Regions from separate parts of the Homo sapiens genome. Here all the other regions are linked to region 1. Evidence: promoter capture Hi-C in 16 types of primary human blood cells and fetal thymus (Javierre and others, 2016). All regions are on one chromosome and are shown on one strand. Each heading gives the region's core, a stretch centred on a gene start or on the middle of the fragment in contact. The rest is flanking DNA. Distances are from core to core; before and after follow the strand shown.

The links. The method cuts DNA at HindIII sites, captures the fragments that hold promoters and counts their contacts. A CHiCAGO score of 5 or more calls a contact.
Region 2: a fragment that was not itself captured here is called in contact with the fragment with the promoter of CCDC59 in region 1 in 1 of 17 cell types (total B cells); the score reaches 5.4 in total B cells.
Region 3: a contact is called between the fragment with the promoter of PAWR here and the fragment with the promoter of CCDC59 in region 1, in 2 of 17 cell types (total B cells and naive B cells). The highest score is 18.4, in total B cells.
Region 4: a fragment that was not itself captured here is called in contact with the fragment with the promoter of CCDC59 in region 1 in 1 of 17 cell types (total CD4 T cells); the score reaches 5.3 in total CD4 T cells.
Region 5: a contact is called between a fragment that was not itself captured here and the fragment with the promoter of CCDC59 in region 1, in 5 of 17 cell types (total B cells, total CD4 T cells, non-activated CD4 T cells and 2 more). The highest score is 11.9, in total B cells.
Region 6: a fragment that was not itself captured here is called in contact with the fragment with the promoter of CCDC59 in region 1 in 4 of 17 cell types (total B cells, total CD8 T cells, naive CD4 T cells and 1 more); the score reaches 11.9 in total B cells.

What each region holds. Positions count from the first base shown.
Region 1 is chr12:82,356,968-82,359,898 of GRCh38, reverse strand. It overlaps CCDC59 (coiled-coil domain containing 59), which reads left to right and starts at 1,512. Exons shown (of 4, transcript NM_014167.5): 1 at 1,512-1,676; 2 at 2,630-2,931. The coding sequence starts at 1,523. METTL25 (methyltransferase like 25) reads right to left here and starts at 1,370. Exons shown (of 12, transcript NM_032230.3): 1 at 1,075-1,370. The coding sequence starts at 1,333. RefSeq lists enhancers at 582-1,142, 1,073-1,632, 1,143-1,703. The HindIII fragment of the contact is 1,548 bases long and covers 200-1,747 here.
Region 2 is chr12:79,669,605-79,672,535 of GRCh38, reverse strand. The region is part of intron 2 of PAWR (pro-apoptotic WT1 regulator); the gene reads left to right. Among named protein-coding and RNA genes, the nearest start is that of PPP1R12A-AS2, 19 kb to the left of the region's middle. The HindIII fragment of the contact is 1,343 bases long and covers 850-2,192 here.
Region 3 is chr12:79,689,509-79,692,439 of GRCh38, reverse strand. It overlaps PAWR (pro-apoptotic WT1 regulator), which reads left to right and starts at 1,476. Exons shown (of 7, transcript NM_002583.4): 1 at 1,476-1,568; 2 at 2,049-2,711. The coding sequence starts at 2,196. PPP1R12A-AS2 (PPP1R12A antisense RNA 2) reads right to left here and starts at 2,408. Exons shown (of 7, transcript NR_187531.1): 1 at 2,044-2,408. RefSeq lists silencers at 1,179-1,478, 2,249-2,768. The HindIII fragment of the contact is 6,027 bases long and covers 134-2,931 here.
Region 4 is chr12:79,779,139-79,782,069 of GRCh38, reverse strand. PPP1R12A (protein phosphatase 1 regulatory subunit 12A) reads left to right here. Exons shown (of 25, transcript NM_002480.3): 23 at 208-255. It overlaps PPP1R12A-AS2 (PPP1R12A antisense RNA 2), which reads right to left. Exons shown (of 7, transcript NR_187531.1): 7 at 2,164-2,931. Among named protein-coding and RNA genes, the nearest start is that of PAWR, 90 kb to the right of the region's middle. The HindIII fragment of the contact is 3,713 bases long and covers 1-2,931 here.
Region 5 is chr12:79,920,898-79,923,828 of GRCh38, reverse strand. All of the region lies in intron 1 of PPP1R12A (protein phosphatase 1 regulatory subunit 12A), which reads left to right. Among named protein-coding and RNA genes, the nearest start is that of PPP1R12A, 13 kb to the left of the region's middle. The HindIII fragment of the contact is 5,323 bases long and covers 1-2,931 here.
Region 6 is chr12:79,944,924-79,947,854 of GRCh38, reverse strand. No RefSeq gene overlaps it. Among named protein-coding and RNA genes, the nearest start is that of PPP1R12A-AS1, 11 kb to the right of the region's middle. The HindIII fragment of the contact is 1,353 bases long and covers 783-2,135 here.

The DNA.
Region 1 (2,931 bases), core at 263-2,762:
CCAAGTGCTATTATAAGAGGTCCCTCTAGTGATGCTTTGCATTCAGAGAATGCTCAATGAATAAAGTTCACTAGTAAGGGTAACTTTGGGAAGTCTAGAAGGAAAGTAAAAATCCCAGAAGCCTGTTGGTGTCCATCATTCTACTTCCAAAATATGCTTGCCTGAGAAGAATCTACATTTCTTGAGGGTAGGAAAAGCTTGAGCCTACAAAAATTCAAGACACATATTAGGTACTTTAAAATAGTTTTTAAATGAAATAGTGACTATCCGAATACCATCCTAGTCCAAGATACAATCATCTGTTGTACTACTGAGGTAGTCTCCTAACTGGCCTCTCAGCTTCAGCTTTTGCCCTAGTCTATTCTTCAAATAATTCACAGTTATCTTTTCAAATGTGAATTAGGTCACTATGTTGCCTAAATAATCCCAAGGGTTTCCGTCACACTTAAAATCCAAAATCCTTCCAAGGCCTAGAAAGGCCTGTGCCATCTGGCCTCTGCTTGCCTCCCGTCCTGCACCTGCAGCCCCTCACCTGGCTAGAGCCAAGCCTAGCCTGCGGTTCCCACCGCCTGCAACCCCTCCCTGTGGCTCTGCAGCTAGTGCCTTCTCATGTTCCTGACCTCCTAAATTGAGGCAGCCTCCTTACACAATCCCTACCACATTACACTGTTTTTATTTTCTACTTCATTACCACCACTTGAAATTATCTTTATTAACTGTTGAGTAATCTTCCACCACATGCTGGCATTTATAAAACCTGTGAGAGCACTGCTCCCCTAGTTTCCCTAGCGTCAATTATTATGGAATTACTAGATGAAGGAACTCCCCTGCCCTGTTTCCTGCTTTCTTTAAATTGTGGACATACACAAGCACCCAAAGAAAGAGTGATCCTGATTCCAAAGAACATCCCCACCCCACCCCTCAACTAATCCGACCCCTCCTCGGTTTCCCAGCGGGCCGCCCCGCCTCCGCCGCCACGCACCTGGTTCTGCTGGCTTCCACCAGGGGGCTCGCTTCGTCTGCCGGGACCTTCTCCTCCGCCTCCCTTCCCGCCCCGCCTACCCCACCACCCACCTGCTTCCCACTCTGCTTCCACTAGGGGGCGCGTCTCTGAGGGCAGGGCCTCCGTCTCCGACGCTGACTTCCTCAGCGCAGCCAGCACTGTCTCCGGTGGCAAGTCGACCAGCTCCTCCCACACGGATTCTGTGTAGAAATCCACGGTATGTGCATTGGAAATGGACAGGGCATCCCTCAGGAACTGCAGCAGTCCCTGCAACTTGGCACGCAGCGTGGGCAGGTCCGGGGTCACCGGGAGAGGGCAAGAAGCCGCCATGACGCTCACCCTCCGAGGCTGTAGGTGGCGCAAACATGGCCGTGAGGCGCCAGCTCGGCCCAAATTAGCACAGGCAGGCTCAGTAGAGCTCCGAGCCGGATTCCTTCTGAGCGATTGATTGCTTCGGCTTGGTGACGTATTTTGTGGGCGTCCGTCGTGGTCTTCTGATGACGCAGTTAGTCGGCTGCAATGGCGCCGGTGAGGCGGTCCGCGAAGTGGCGGCCTGGTGGTATTGAGGCGCGTGGTGAAGGGGTTTCCACTGTCGGGTACAGGAATAAGAATGTGAGACAGAAGACATGGCGGCCTAACCACCCGCAAGCCTTCGTGGGGAGCGTTCGCGAGGGTATGTAAGAAGGCAACCATTTGCAAATCCTCAGGCTTGCTAAGTTTTAGGATATAAGATTCGCTGAAGCTTGGAAGAAGGATTTAGGAACCAGACCCGGTCCTACTTGGGGCAAGGGAATTCATTCCTGAGCCCGCTAAAGCTGTGAGCTTCGCAGAGCTCTAGATAGGAAGACGGAGCAGTGTTGCTATTATTTAAACGTCTTTTCTGACGTAACCCTGTATTTCATCAGAACTTTTTTCCTATATTTTTCCTGAGAAACTGAGCAGAGAGAGTCTATGACCCTGTGAACTCTTGCGCATGTGGTAAGGTAAAGGATAGAGAGGAGGACAGGGCCAGAAACACTGCTCCGAATTCTTCCTTATTACAAATACCCGAGGCCCTCCAGCCTTCGCTTTAATTTGTGTTTGTCATTTTGTATTGCTGTCTGTAAGGTCTCTTAGATCCCACTTGGAATATATAAATGTTAAATTCAGTCTTCCGATAATTGCTAGCTTTTCAGACAACCATACACTGTCTTTTTCTTTCGTGTTGAAACATTTTCGAAAACATGTAGTTTGTCCAAGATACTAGATGTGGCATTTTCTTTCCTATTTTTTAAGCATTTATTGAAGGCTCAGATTAAGTGTTTTAGATGAACTAAGGAATTTGTTTTGATTTGTGAATACAGCTGTAAACTCAAGTTGTGCAACAGTCTGAACTGGTCAGTTTTTCTTTGAGATTCTTACTTGGATTTCCGCATGACTGTTAGCCTGGTCTTTTTGCAAAGGGCCAACTTACTATGCAATCCATCAGCTTAAATTTGTTGCTTGAAATAATTTTTTAAAGCAAAATATAATACTAGAATCTGAATGTGATGACGTAAAAAAAGTTTTCATTTGTAATTAACAGCTCCATTCTTCGTTCAACTTCTTTTCTCTGAAAGTAATTTTGGATGATATTCCTCAATGTAGGACAAGGCTTTGCTTTTCGAAGAAAACTGAAAATACAGCAAAGTTACAAGAAATTGCTACGGAAGGAAAAGAAGGCTCAAACGTCACTGGAATCTCAATTCACAGATCGATACCCAGATAATCTGAAACATCTCTATTTAGCTGAAGAGGAAAGACATAGGAAGCAAGCAAGAAAAGTCGACCATCCTTTGTCAGAACAAGTTCACCAGCCGTTGCTTGAAGAACAGTGTAGCATTGACGAGCCTTTATTTGAAGATCAGTGTAGCTTTGACCAGCCTCAGCCAGAAGAACAATGTATTAAA
Region 2 (2,931 bases), core at 272-2,771, 2.7 Mb after region 1:
TATTTAGTTGAGATCCAAACTTTGGAAGGAGCCAGTTAGGTAAAAATCAGGGGAAGGAGCTGGGGTAAAAATGTTCTAGGTAGGAGAATCGGAAGAGATTGTGGGGAGAAAGAAAACAAAACAAAAGTTCTAGGTGGAGGGAACAGACATTACAGAGGTTTTGAGGCAGGAAACTTCAAGTATTCAACTTAAAGCAAAAGTTGGGTAGGTGAGAAGAGATAAAGACCAGGTCATGGTAGAGTTTGGAGTTTAAGTGCAGTTGGGAGCTGCTTGTTGGTTGAAGCAGAGGAAGTACTTGATCTAATTTTTGTTTCAGAAAGATCAGTTTAGGTTGTAGGTAAAGAATGGGCTCTGTGTACGGGAAGGAGAGGGCAGACCACTACAGCAATACAGGAGAGAGTGACCAGGTGGGAGGTAGGGGCCATGGAGAGACGGGATTGCGTATGGAATATGTTTTAGAGGTAGAGCTGACAGCACTTTCTGTGAGAAGCAGAGCAATCAAAATGATAATTAGGTTTTCCTTTAGAGCAATTGGGTGGATGCTGATGCCATTAACTAACAATACTTTTCACTGCTATTCGTGCAGTAAAATGATGTCATGCAGAAGTATAGCTTTTTAATATTTTTATTTTTAGAGATAGGGTCTTGCTATGTTGCCCACGCTGGCTTTGAGCTCCTGGGCTCAAGTGATCCTCTTGCCTCAGCCTCCCAAGTAACTAGGACTACAGGTGCACAACTGTGCCTGGCTGTGTCCTTTTTGTAGAAATTATGATTGAGCCTCTTTATAAATAATCTTAACATTTTGAGTATATGCTAGGCATTGTTCTAAGTTCATTACATGTATAAGCTTATTTAATTATCATAAAAAGTTAAATGAACTATTTGTCTTTATATCCCTCGTATCGAGGAAACTAAACAATTAACATGGTAAACACATCAACAAGCTAAAGAAGAAAAATCTCATATTAATAGATGGAGAAAAAGTATTTGACAAGATCCAATACCCATTCACAGTAAAACTTCTTGGTAAACTAGGAATAGATGGGAATGGCCTCAGTTTGATGAATATCTACAAAAACCTATAGCCATATATTTGAATTTAGAGAAGCTACTTCTACGCTAACTACACATAAGGGCTATGTTTCTAGTACAGAATATTGATTAAAACCTTTCCTGTTTTGATTAAATCTAGCCACATGATTCTCCTAGTGAAGGGATTTAATCTTGAAATTGGTGGAATATTTTAGATGGTAAATTGATTAGAGAAAAGAGATTTCAATTATGTTGTCTAGTACTTTCCATTTTGTTGAATTAAAGTTTAAAACACCACCAAACAACTTTAGGCTGTAGTGGAATTTAAAATTAGTATTTGAATGTAATGTTTTCTTTCCTTTTTTTTTTTTTTTTTTTTTAAGTGCTAAGGTCTTGCTTTTTGCCCAGGCTAGACTCAAACTCCTAGGCTTAAGCAATTCTCCTGCCTCAGCCTCCAGCGTAGCTGGGACTAGAGGTTCGTGCTACTGTGCCTGGCTAATATTTTTCCTTTTTAAGCTAGGTTTTCCTTGACAGTCTATTTTAGTATCCTTAATACTTAGCTCAGTGCTTGACATGTAGGATTAAGAAGGTGGTCTGTCAACTAGGGAAATAATGAAAAAAAAAAACCCCTAAAAAAAAAGTGGCAAACATATTCTGATATGGAAATTATTTCATTTATAAATTGTGTTTTCTTCTAAGGTTTTGCTTTAAAATCACAAAATCTTGAAGTACACTTAAAATTTGAAGTTCAGCTTATGATAGCCTTTTTTTTATTGTGAACTGAAGTTTTAATATTTGATACTAGAGAGTATCTATTGATAAATTCGTGTAGTTATAAGAAAGGTTCAGTTACAGTGATTGCTATTACCTTGATATTTTGTAAATTACTCCCTTTGTAACATTTGCTGTCTCAGGAATTATTTTTTCTAATGTCAGATGGACTTTTCAGAATGAATTGAATGAGATATTTTTGGCATTTTGAAACCTAATGATTTTTCTATGAAGAATTTTTATTCTTATTCATTGCATTTTTTTTTTCCCCAAGAAAAAATGATGTATAATAGTGACACATAAGATAGACATTCTCCTGGTAAAGTATATTGCTCTTTGGATTTTATTTTGATTTCAGTAACAGATTTGATAATTTGGTTTTTTAAGCTTTCATTACCTAATTCTGTAATCTTTGAGGATACAATTCAACCAACCAACCAGCCTTTTCTATAATTTAGTAACTTTACTTGCATTTTTCTCTTGGACTTTGCTTATGTACTGCCAATTAGTTGCTTAAAACTTTTTGTCATTGTTAAAACTGTTTACATGGCTTTTTAAAATGGGGGAAAAACAATAGAAACATGCTGTGGTGCAACGAATGAATACAGTGTGATTAACAACTTAATTTTTTTTCCTGTTTCAAACATCCACCTATTTTTAGCATTTTGTATACCCATAGGTTAAAAATATTTACATTTTTCTTAGAAAAGTAACCTGTTTAAGAACAAAAAAGGCCAAGCGTGGTGGCTCACATCTGTAATTCCAGTACTTTGGGAGGTGGAGGAGGGTGGATTGCTTGAGCTCAGGAGTTTGAGACCAGCCTGGGCAACATGGCAAAACCCCATCTCTACTGAAAATACAAAAATTAGCCCAGTATAGTGGTGCACACCTATAGTATGTTTGAACCGGGAGGTGGAGGTTGCAGTAAGCCAAGATTGTGCCACTGTACTCCAGCCTGGGTGACAGAACAAGAGACTGTCTTAAAAAAACAAACCCAACAAACAAAAAAAAAGAATGAATAACTGTTTATTCATTATATAAATAACTTATTTAACAGTTTCAGTATATTTTGAAATCTTTTTCCATGTATCATTTGATTTTTTTCTTTTTTTAAAGAACACTTGAGAA
Region 3 (2,931 bases), core at 227-2,726, 2.7 Mb after region 1:
CCCTTACTCTCCTTAAAACTCAGAAAACAAACTAATGAATATGTAATTGAGAAACTTCAGGTGGCACACTGGGGTTGGTACTAGCTTAGGTAAACAGCCGCTCAGCCTTTTAGACCTATTCCCAACAAAAGCTTTTAATTTTCTAAGGATTTTTCCAGAGCTCTCGCCATACGTTTCCCACAACAGCCAGACCAAAGACCAAAACTGTCTTTCCCTGAGAAATATAGAGCATGTGAATCACTTTCTTCTGTTCCCAGTTCTGTGGCAGGCAAACACTGATTGCTCACTCATCATGTGCTACCTGGGCAAAACAGGAATATTAAGTAGGAAGAAAGGTTTATGTTAGGTAAGAGCGTGACTTAGGGCTCTCCTACTTTTTTACAAAATGGAGACCTGGCATTTGTAGCCTCCCACAATGATGTGCCCTGACATTACTTGGATATAGAAAGGTCAGTCTTAGGTGCGTCAGTGACAGCCCACCCCGCTCTGATCCAGAAATTTCAGATGACTTGCATCAGAGGATAAGCCTCTGGCATGTTAATAATGAAAAAATAGAGACAATCACTGCCCCAGCTCATCTCAAATTAGCATCAGTGCAGCGTTAGTACTTTGGTAGGGAGCTTTGCTGCTAAATTCATTCTCTGTAAAGAGGAGAGGCAGAGACAGGGTTAAGGGGAAAACTCCAAGACTGGAATCGCCAATACAATAAACTGTCGAACTGAGTTTTTTCTCCCGCAACCCTAAGATACTAGTAAGTCCTTCCTCTTAGCCAACCCTTTTCACCAGGGCACCGCAGTTTTCTTAGAAGGAGGGTGCTGGGTTTGTCTCAGGTCTTTCTATTCTCCTGCCCGCTGCCCTAGTACATCTGAAAAGGGAGCAGCGACTAGGAAAAGAGACACGTGGGTATTTTCCCATCCTGTCTAGTCATTCCCTGAATCATCACAAGTTATCGCACTTTTCCCCTTAGCCAGCAGCGTTCGAGACTTTCTCTCAAATAATACGGTCTTGTACTTAAAAGGAAGAGTGGTGGGAGAAGAGAGAGGCGGAGAAGACAAGCAAGAAGGGCGTGGAGTGCCGTTCCCGCCCCGGAGTCGGAGGCGCCGGGAGGCCGGACGCCGCGAAGCTGCTAGCCCAGGAATGTGCCGTCTAACTCGCAGGCCGCGGGCGGAGCGCGGCGGGCGCGCTGTGGTCTGCGGCGGGAGCGGGGCAGAGGACGGCTGGCGCAGGGCAGGCTGCAGCGGCGGGCCGGACGCGACGCCGCGCACCTGAGCGCCGGGGGCGGGGCGTCAGCGGCCACGACCCTTCCCACCGCGCGCCGCGCCCCTCGCGCGCCGCCTCGGCCTTTTCCGCTCGTGCTTCGGCGCCGCTCGGCTCCCTTCCCGCCCCTGGCTCCCTCCCTCCCTCCCTCCCTCCTTCTTCTCCCTCCCTCCTGTCCTGGGATTGCCTGGAGCTCCGCACCGCGAGTTTGCCGCGGCACTTTCCGCGCGGCGGAAGAGCGCGCGCCAGCTTCGGCACACCTGGGAGCCGGATCCCAGCCCTACGCCTCGTCCCCTACAAGCTCCTCCAAGGTAAGGCGCTCGCTCACACCCGGTCCTTTCCACGCTCGGCGGGACAGCTGGGTCCCCGCCTCCTCTGCGAACCGGCTAGGAGCTCCGCGCCTCGCCTTGGGAGTGGGGTTGTAGCTGACGGGGACCTCGGACCGGCGGTGGCTAGAGCGCGGAGCAGGCGATACGACGAGCCGACAGGTGGCGGGTCTAGCCCTAGTATCTCGACCGCCGCCGGCGCGGACCTTGGTGGGGATGGGGCGGGCGGGCCGACTTGGGGGTGGGGTCAGTCCTCTCTCCTCCCTTCTAGGGGCGGCGATCGTCGGGGTCCGTACTGTAGGTGCGTGGGAGAAACTTTGCAGGGTGGGGACCCGGCGGCTGCTGGCCGGTAGTGACTGGTGGGCGCGCTCGAGGACTCCAAGGGGCGCAGCCCGGGGGCAGACCCTTGGGTCGGGCGGGGATCTTACGCTTCCCTTACCCGCCCCCTTTTGTCTTTCACCTCAGCCCCGCCGGCTGCTGTGGGAGCGGCGGCCGTCCCTCTCCTGGAGGTCGTCTCCTGGCATCCTCGGGGCCGCAGGAAGGAAGAGGAGGCAGCGGCCGGAGCCCTGGTGGGCGGCCTGAGGTGAGAGCCCGACCGGCCCCTTTGGGAATATGGCGACCGGTGGCTACCGGACCAGCAGCGGCCTCGGCGGCAGCACCACAGACTTCCTGGAGGAGTGGAAGGCGAAACGCGAGAAGATGCGCGCCAAGCAGAACCCCCCGGGCCCGGCCCCCCCGGGAGGGGGCAGCAGCGACGCCGCTGGGAAGCCCCCCGCGGGGGCTCTGGGCACCCCGGCGGCCGCCGCTGCCAACGAGCTCAACAACAACCTCCCGGGCGGCGCGCCGGCCGCACCTGCCGTCCCCGGTCCCGGGGGCGTGAACTGCGCGGTCGGCTCCGCCATGCTGACGCGGGCGGCCCCCGGCCCGCGGCGGTCGGAGGACGAGCCCCCAGCCGCCTCTGCCTCGGCTGCACCGCCGCCCCAGCGTGACGAGGAGGAGCCGGACGGCGTCCCAGAGAAGGGCAAGAGCTCGGGCCCCAGTGCCAGGAAAGGCAAGGGGCAGATCGAGAAGAGGAAGCTGCGGGAGAAGCGGCGCTCCACCGGCGTGGTCAACATCCCTGCCGCAGAGGTGAGCCGGGCGGGGGCCGCAGCCGGACCGGGCCGGGGCGGGCAGCTGCCTCCCGGTGTCTTCCTCCTGGGAGCTACCCGGGGCGCAGAGTTTACCTCCCCTGGCTCGTACTTGTCCCTTCACCGAGTTAGGCAGGCAGGGGGTGATGGAGTTTTACTCTGAACAAATGCTTCCTGGGAAGTTCCCCAAACTCAGAGTAGGACACGTGCTTTTCAGGCTT
Region 4 (2,931 bases), core at 152-2,651, 2.6 Mb after region 1:
AGAGCTCTGGTTACCATTCTATTTCTAAACATTCATTGCACTCTTTATTATTTTAATACAAATCCTGTTTTCTCTTTGCTTTACTCACGAACCTGTGTTTTACTCCACTTGAATATTGTGATTTAATACCTATTAAAAGAGAATTACTGTGGTCACCCCTGAACTTTTTTGCACTTATCTCTTTTATAATTTCTTACTTTGTTGCAGAGACAAGAAAGATTTGCTGATAGATCACTGTTGGAAATGGAAAAAAGGGTAAGTGTCCCACTTATTAAATAATTATTTTTTTCTTTCTTGTTTTAGGTAAACAATGGTAGGTTTTTTGTTTTTATTTTGTTATTATGGATGACAGTTTTAATTAGTTTAAATATTTATTGAGTTAATGTATTTTGCAGCAACTTCTTTATAGAATTCTATGGGGTTTCTCTAGGTATGAAATGACCTTGTTAAATAAAATTTAATTTACCACATAATTCTTTTAATGAATTTAAAAAAACTGTCTTGCCTTGATTCTGAAATGTACTATACACATTTTGATAGTGAATTTGATATTTTTGAAATGCCGTTTATCTCTTATGGCCTGTACCTAAAACGTTTTAATCATAAATACATTTATTTTAATTCTTTATAAACCTAAAATACTTTCGTTCTTGAAATAAAGTTTCTAAATCTGGAACATCAAATTTTCAAATTCTTTTTAAAGTTAATTTAATAATTTTTTAAAATTTTGAGTTTAAATATTTAACTTAAGTAGGCTATTTTAAACAAAAAAAAGATTACAAGAAAATCCTTATGCCACTTGATGTCTTTCTGCAAGTTTTTATTGATTGTAATACATTCACTTGTATTTCTCTTCACTTATTGTTGCTCAAAGGTCTAGGAGTAGTCATAGGAATAACTGTACAAGTTTAGCCTCATCAGTTGAAAATGTATAAATGATCCAAAAGTTAAAGGAAAAGTGCCCAAAGATTGTTTGTAGTGTAGCTGAGCAGTAGCTAGACTTGGTAGGGTTTCGACCAGAGAAGAAATGACATGCTGGTAGCTATGATCAAAGAGTAAATACTTAGGAGCTATTGATATAAAAACATTTTTCTTCCATTCTATTTTAAAATAACCAATTTGCCCTTTTCACCAAAAAAAAGAGAAATGGTTAAAAAAAAAGAATATAAAAATAGTGTTATAATGTCTGTCATTTGCTAGTTGTACCTTGCAATAGCTACCATTTTATTATGCTTTCTGCAAGTTTTAAAAATTAGTGTTCTGAGTCATGTTTTCAAAATGGACATAATAATTGCTAAAATATTGTTTTAATAAATTTAATATTATTATATCCTGTTAGAATATTTAACTGTTACTGAATTTTATCTCCAGGATAGGCAGAAATAATAAAATCAGTTCTCTGTTATACTAACGGTTGAGATGAAAGGCATGGATAACAAACTGTACTTAAAGTAGTATTTATTTTTCAAATACAATCACAATTTTAAATATTTAATTTTTCTTATGAAAGTAATATGTTTATTACAGAAACTTTAACAAAAGAAGACAATATTAAATTATCTGTAATCTGTCATGCAGAGATAGCTGATATTTTGATACTTTTTTTTTCTAACATACACATGATGCAGACACATTCATACTCTGACAAGCTCACCTAACCTCCTTTTTCTGCTTGTCAAATGCAGATAAATTACAAAGTAGCTAATCCACTCTCTATAATCATGGTATTAATAGTAACTGCTAACATTTATTCATCATTCTCTGTATATCAAGCAGGCACAAAATTAAACACTTTACATGCATTTTCTCTAAACCATATTTTTTTTCCTTGTGTTTTTTTTTTGTTTGTTTGTCTGTTTTTTTAAAGAGACAGAATATTGCTCTGTCACCCAGGCTGGAGTACAGTGGCACAGTCACCGATCACTGCATCCTCCAGTTCCTGGGTTCAAGCAATCCTCCTGCATCAGCCTCCAGAATAGCTGGCACTACAGGTGCATGTCTCCACACCCAACTATTTTTTTAATTTCTTTTTGGAGACAAGGTCTCACTTTGTTGCCAAGGCTGGTCTTGAACTCTTGGCTTTATGCATCCTTTCACCTAGGCCTCCCAAAGTGCTGGGATTACAGGCTTGAGCCATTGTGCCTGGCCAGTTATATTTTTTAATGTTAATATGTTTGTCAAACATAAGAAATTTCATATCATTTTACAGATGTCAATTTCATTGAGCTAATAGAATCAGGCAGTTGGGTGTAGTTTTCTTGTCTTACTTTACCACTAATTTAAAATCTTGAAGACACCTAATAAAATTGAGGCTCATAGGGAGATTACCTCTCAGAAGAAATATTCTATTTCTGATATTTTGCAAAGTGGTAAAGATCAAATATGACACTTTATGTGCTAGTATTTTGAGAAGTGTGATGATTTGTATGAATTTGTCATGACTGTATTATTTAGTAGAAGAAAGATCTATGTATTGAAAATAATGTTTCTGTCTATACAATAATGTTTAGGCATGCCGATGTTGGAATAACATGGTACTTAAAAGACGATCAGTAGGATTCTGTCTACTTTTTAAAATCACATACCCTAAAAACATTAACATTTACAGTAAATGTACTGCTTGACTAAATATCAGCATTATTTATTAATCTGGGAAAGAGTGTCTTGGAAATAGTTTCAGTGTGATTAAACTAAATTTAAATGGTTTGTATCTGAAAGGTGACCGGCAAGAGTCAGTATCTTCTGGGCGGTATGACCTAACCAGTTTTACAGCTCATCAATTACTGCTGCTTGCTTTTTGCATAACACCCCAGAATGCTTATCATTTAAGGGAGAATAAAACAGTACACTGCAATAATGTGTTGTGTGTTGGCTTTGCCTGTCACTCTTTGAAACAAGTTTAAAATAAACGCTGCAGTTGCTTTTCTATTA
Region 5 (2,931 bases), core at 307-2,806, 2.4 Mb after region 1:
TCAGGTGATCCACTCGCCTCAGCCTCCCAAAGTGCTGCGATTACAGGCGTGAGCCACCGTGCCTGGCCTCTCCTTTTTATTTTTAAACATGGCTTACTTTTGTATGTTTAATGTTGTATGTGAATTTTATCCCAAATAAAAATAGTTGTAAAAGTTTAAGAATAATTATTTAATTAAAACACTAAAGACAAATGTAAAAAATAAAATGTTATCCAAAATTTCGGGACTGGACTTTGCTCCATTTAAAAGTTTAACATCCTTTTAAATATCTCTGTACAAGTATGTAATTTTCTATAAATGGGGTCATACCTAATTTTCTGGTTTATAACCAGTTTTGAAACATTATGTATTTTAAGAAACATTTCTGTGTTAAAGAATATTCATATACATTTTCCCTTTTAATGAGTGTATCGTATTCCATTGTGTGTGCATGTGCATATACATCTTGGAATTTATTTTCCTAGTCCTTTCCTGATGAACATTTAGTATATTTTCCACTTTTTATCATATGGTGAATATTATGTACATCTTATTTATTTATTTATTTATTTTTTTGAGACGAAGTCTCCCTCAGCAGCTCAGGCTGGAGTGCAGGGGCGTGATCTCGGCTGACTGCAACTACCGTCTCCTGGGTTCAAGCGATTGTCCCATCTCAGCCTCCCGAGTAGCTGGGATTACAGGCACCCGCCATCATGCCCGGCTAATTTTTGTATTTTAGTAAAGATGGGGTTTCACCATGTTGGCCAGGCTGGTCTTGAACTCCTGACCTCAGGTGATCTACCCACCTCGGGCTCCCAAAGTGCTAGGATTACAGGTGTGAGCCATCGCACCTGGCCTATACCATGTACATTTTTACTCGCTCATCACATTGTATTCCTTAGGATTGTTCCTTAGAAATCTTATCTGCAATCTTATGTTTTGCTCAAAATAACATGCCATTTAAATGATTGTTTATACAAAATACTTTTTAAAAAATTTTTTACTTTTAAGTTCTGGTATACATGTGCAGAACGTGCAGGTGTGTTACATGGGTATACTTATGCTATGGTAGTTTGCTGCACTTACCGACTCATATCTAGGTTTTAAGCCCTGCATGCATTAGGTATTTGTCCTAATGCTCTCCCTACCCTTGCCCCTGAGCCCCCGACAGGCCCCAGTGTGTGATGGTCCTCCCTGTGTCCATGTGTTCTCATTGTTCAACTTCCACTTATGAGTGAGAACCTGAGGTGTTTGGTTTTCTGTTCCTGTATTAGTTTGCTGAGAATGATGGCTTCCAGCTTCATCCATGTCCCTGCAAAGGACATGAACTCATTCTTTTTTATGACTGTATTCCATGGTGTGTATGTGCTACATTTTCTTTATCCAGTTCATCATTGATGGGGATTTGGGTTAGTTCTAAGTCTGCAAAAGGCATTTTTAATAAAGTTTCTAGTATATTGAAAATGGAAAACTAACCGTGAAAGTACTCATGTTGACACATCTGTTAAATTGATGCGATAATGTTATCCCCTATATGTCACCCACAGGCAGATTTTTGTTTTATTTATTGTTTTTTTTGTTTTGTTTTGAGATGGGGTCTTGCTCTGTTACCCAGGCTGGGAGTGCAGTGGTGTGAACACAGCTCACTGCAGCTTCGACTGCCTGGCCTTAGTGATTCTCCCACCTCAGCCTTTTGAGTAGCTGAGACTACAGGCGTGTGCCCACCACAACTGGCTGACTTTTAAAATCATTATTATTAGTAGTAGAGACAAGGTTTTGCTGTGTTGCCCAGGCTGGTTTCAAACTCCTGGGCTCAAGCAATCCTCCTGCCTTGGCATCCCAAAGTGCTTGGATTACAGCCATGCACTACCATGCCTGGCTGAGGAAAATTGTTTTATTGCTTTATTACTCTGTGTGTGTGTGTTTGTGAGAATAAAATTAGTTGTATTTCACTCAGAGAAGCAATTGGGGAAGACAAGGTAAAAAGTGTTCTTCCTTTTTTCTTTATGTAAGGTTTAGTTCTAATGTTTGAAAATTTTGAAGTTATTAAAATATTAAACAATATCTGTATTCATTTATATGATGCTGTTATTCATTTAAATTAGTGAATAACTCATTCATGCAAGAAACATAGAGAGATCACCATTTATCATATGTCCAGCACAGTACTAATCTCTAAAAACAGTGGTCCCTGGCTACATGTAGTATACAATCTAGTTGAGGTGGCAGCATGAGCCGATGATTACAATGTAAATAAGTGGTAGAGTAGAGATACAAGGTGAAATTAAAGGCTTTATTAGGCGGGCTTAACCCAGAGTATCAATGGAAGACATCCCTGAGAAAGCTCTGTAAGTTATAGGTAACTTATCAGCAGATGTTTTGAGCCTTTTATGACCCTATTCACTACTGGTTTGTCTTCTGAATGTACCTGTTTAGTGTACCTTTTTGTCAGTTTCTTTCTTGAAGATGAATGTTGCCAAGGTTCTCATATGTCTATTATTCTTTTTTGTGTTATTTATGTAGTTTCAACTTTCTTTTTATATGATCTGTCCTCCTTCTTACATGATCCATATCTTATTTTTTATATCAGTCTTCCATTTACTAAGCTAGAATCTCAGGGTCTTTTTCTGTTTTCTCCTCACTTGCATACAGTACATCTCCTCTACCATGCACACACCTAAAAAAAAATCATCTTTTGTATATTCATTTAACATATATTAAAGGTCTCTTCTGTGCCAGACACTACTAAGTGCTGAGAAGACACATTTTTGAGCAAAAATATACCAACAGTACCCTCATAGAGTCGACAGTAAAATGAAATTAGCCATTTGGGAAATGCAAATCAAACCCACAATGAGATACTAGTTCACACCTACTAGGATGGCTTTAATAAAAAAGAGAACAAGTAATGACTAGGATGTTGTATTAGTCCTGTTTTCTTTTGCTTATAAC
Region 6 (2,931 bases), core at 210-2,709, 2.4 Mb after region 1:
GGCATAACAGTTTTTCCTGGCTGTGACTGACAGTCTTAGGTTCTCTCTCTCTTTTTAGTGAAACATAATTTACCCACAGTAAGCTTCAGCTTTTTTCATGTATAGTTCTGTGAGCTTTGACAAATGTATACTTTTATATAAACATCACCATAATCAATATCTAAAACAGCTTCATCGTGCCAAAATATTAGTTCTTTCCTCTTTACTTCTTATATTTGTCTTGCCTTCAGAATTAAGCCGATAGCATACCAGAAACCTTTACAATTGAGAAAACCATACTATGTCAACTTTTACCTCTAGAAATGAAATAAACAGGGTTGATCTGTAATAGGAATCTGGAGATAAAGGAAACCAGACAGGGTGTCACAGTAAAAAACACAAGAATAGCTATAAAAGTACAGGAATAATGTTACTGAGACAGGTTTTCAAGCTTTCACTTCAGATCTCAACTAATCTAATGCCATATAAACATTTCCTATTCCTGAGAGATTAGATATTGCAATGATTTTTATGAAAATGAACAGAGGAACGGCTTTCTTATCCACTCTAAAATTTTTCTTTAACCTACGCTAAAGAAAAGTGAAAATTAATTACTTTCTCAGACAGAAAGATCTTGGCTGTTTGCCTACTTAGATGTAATTAAAGTCATTCTCGTTTATAATTTCAACTCATTCATGTCTTACAAATCTGTATGCATGTGGCAAACCTAACCCTTATTCCTCTCAGTATGTTTTTCATATCTTCTTTTACCAACATAGGTGTGAATGAAACATGTACAAGCTTCTTTATTTTTATACGTCTATTGTGTACATTATATGTATATATGTATATTATGTAATTACTGGAGTAACTACATAATAGGGTATAAAAAGAATGTCATAGTTATAGAATTTTATCTATAATAATAAAAATAAGACATATGGATAAAATTCAAAAGGATGAATTTGAAAAATAATGAAAAATGAAAGCAAGTAAAATAAAAATTAAATCGTTTCCATATAGTATACTATAGAATATACATATATATATAGCGTGTGTGTACACATGTGTGCGTATGAGAAGTGAGAAATTATGAGTCAGAGAGGTAAAGATATATACAATAGGTGTAATAATATTGAGGATTTAAATAAAAGTCATATAGTTTGGGAAAACTAGAAATATCTAAAGTTCAATGGGTAGAAGACAACACTGTCACTCAATTAGTGACTGAAAACCAAATGAAAAAATTAAAAATGGAAAGTAAAATTGAAAAAGAGAAACTAGGATAATGTGGAGAATCATTTCAAAAATGGAAAGCTGGCCAGGAGCGGTGGCTCACGCCTGTAATTCCAGCACTTTGGGAGGCCAAGGCGGGCAGATCACGAGGTCAGGAGTTTGAGACCAGCCTGGCCAACATGGTGAAACGTCATCTCTACTAAAAATACAAAATCAGCCAGGCATGGTGGTGCATGCCTGTAATCCCAGCTACTCAGGAGGCTGAGGCAGGAGAATCGCTTGAACCTTAGGCGGAGGTTGCAGTGAGCCAAGATCGCGCCACTGCACTCCAGCCTGGGCAACAAGAGCAAAACTCCATCTCAAAAAAAAAAAAGAAAGAAAAAAGAAAAATGGAAAGCTGATACAGTATGAGAAATAATGTGTTCAGGTTAAAAAATGCAATGACTACCATGTACCTATCATGACAAAGCAGCTTAGAGAAGTTTTATTAATTGTGCCTACTCTCTCAGACTCTATCACTACGTGATCCTGACTTAGCCTAGCATTCTTAACAAAACAAACACACAAGCAACAAAATGATAAGCGAGCCTAATTTAGCATGGCTCATTTCTCAAAAAACCTTTAGTTGTTCCTAGTGATCGTTAAGTTCTTAAAATTTCCATTCATTTTGCATTTAATTATCTTTCCTAGAGTTTTACTTAGAAATGATGTATAATTGACTAATTTATAGTTACTAGGCATATGTGAAAATAGATCTAGTAAGCTAATCACTATGAAGGCAAATTTGTTCAATACAGAATAATTTTTTTATTAGTGTGATAAGTGAAGATTTTTAGCACCTTGTTCTCTTATCATTCACTTGGAAATTATTTTACATTCCTTCCAGTTTTTACATGCCACATACAATCAATGATTAAGCTTTATTGATTCCTGGCCCCTCCTTTTCATCTGTACTGTCATTGCTCTAGCTGAGGCCATCTTCAACTGTCACCTCAGTACTGCATGAGTCTTGTCTCCTCTGAGCTATCCCGCGGTTTAGGAGGATAAATGGTGTCTAAGGCAAAGTGATGTGTTTGTTCTCCCTCTGTAAACATATCCACTGTTACTCTAGAATTTGCATTCATTTCTTTAGGGCACTCTTCGCTATGCCCCGGTGCCTGTCCTCTATTTTTCTTCCAGAATGATCTTTCTGACCCAAATATCTGGTATTACTCTCTTGCTTCAATAATTTCTCATCATCTGAAGCAGAAGTAGCAACTGCCAAAGCTCTCAGGTGCCAGGCAGGTAGCAGAAGTGACAACGGAACAAAGCAGATCAGATGGGGACTATTGCAGAGTGGTGACATTAGAGCCTGTCAAATGCGGGAAAATGTGGCCAGAACTTCCAGTTCTTCAAAAGAGACTGGAAATCCAGATTTTATGTGAAACGGTTTAGCTTTTAAATGTCAACAAATAATTCATCACGTTTTAAAGCACGGCATAAGCCAAACAAGCCACTTGTGTAGTCTGTGAACAATCAACCTGTGAACTCTGACCTGATAGGATAAGATCCAGACTCCTTAGAATGGCATAAAAGATTCTTCATGATCTATTTTCTGCCTACTTTACCAACTATATTTCTTGCCTATTCTTCCTGCAAAAAAAAAAAAAGTATACTTCATCAATTCTGAGTTGCTCTCCACTTTTAGAAAAAAAGTGTAGCATTATTTTCCTTTGT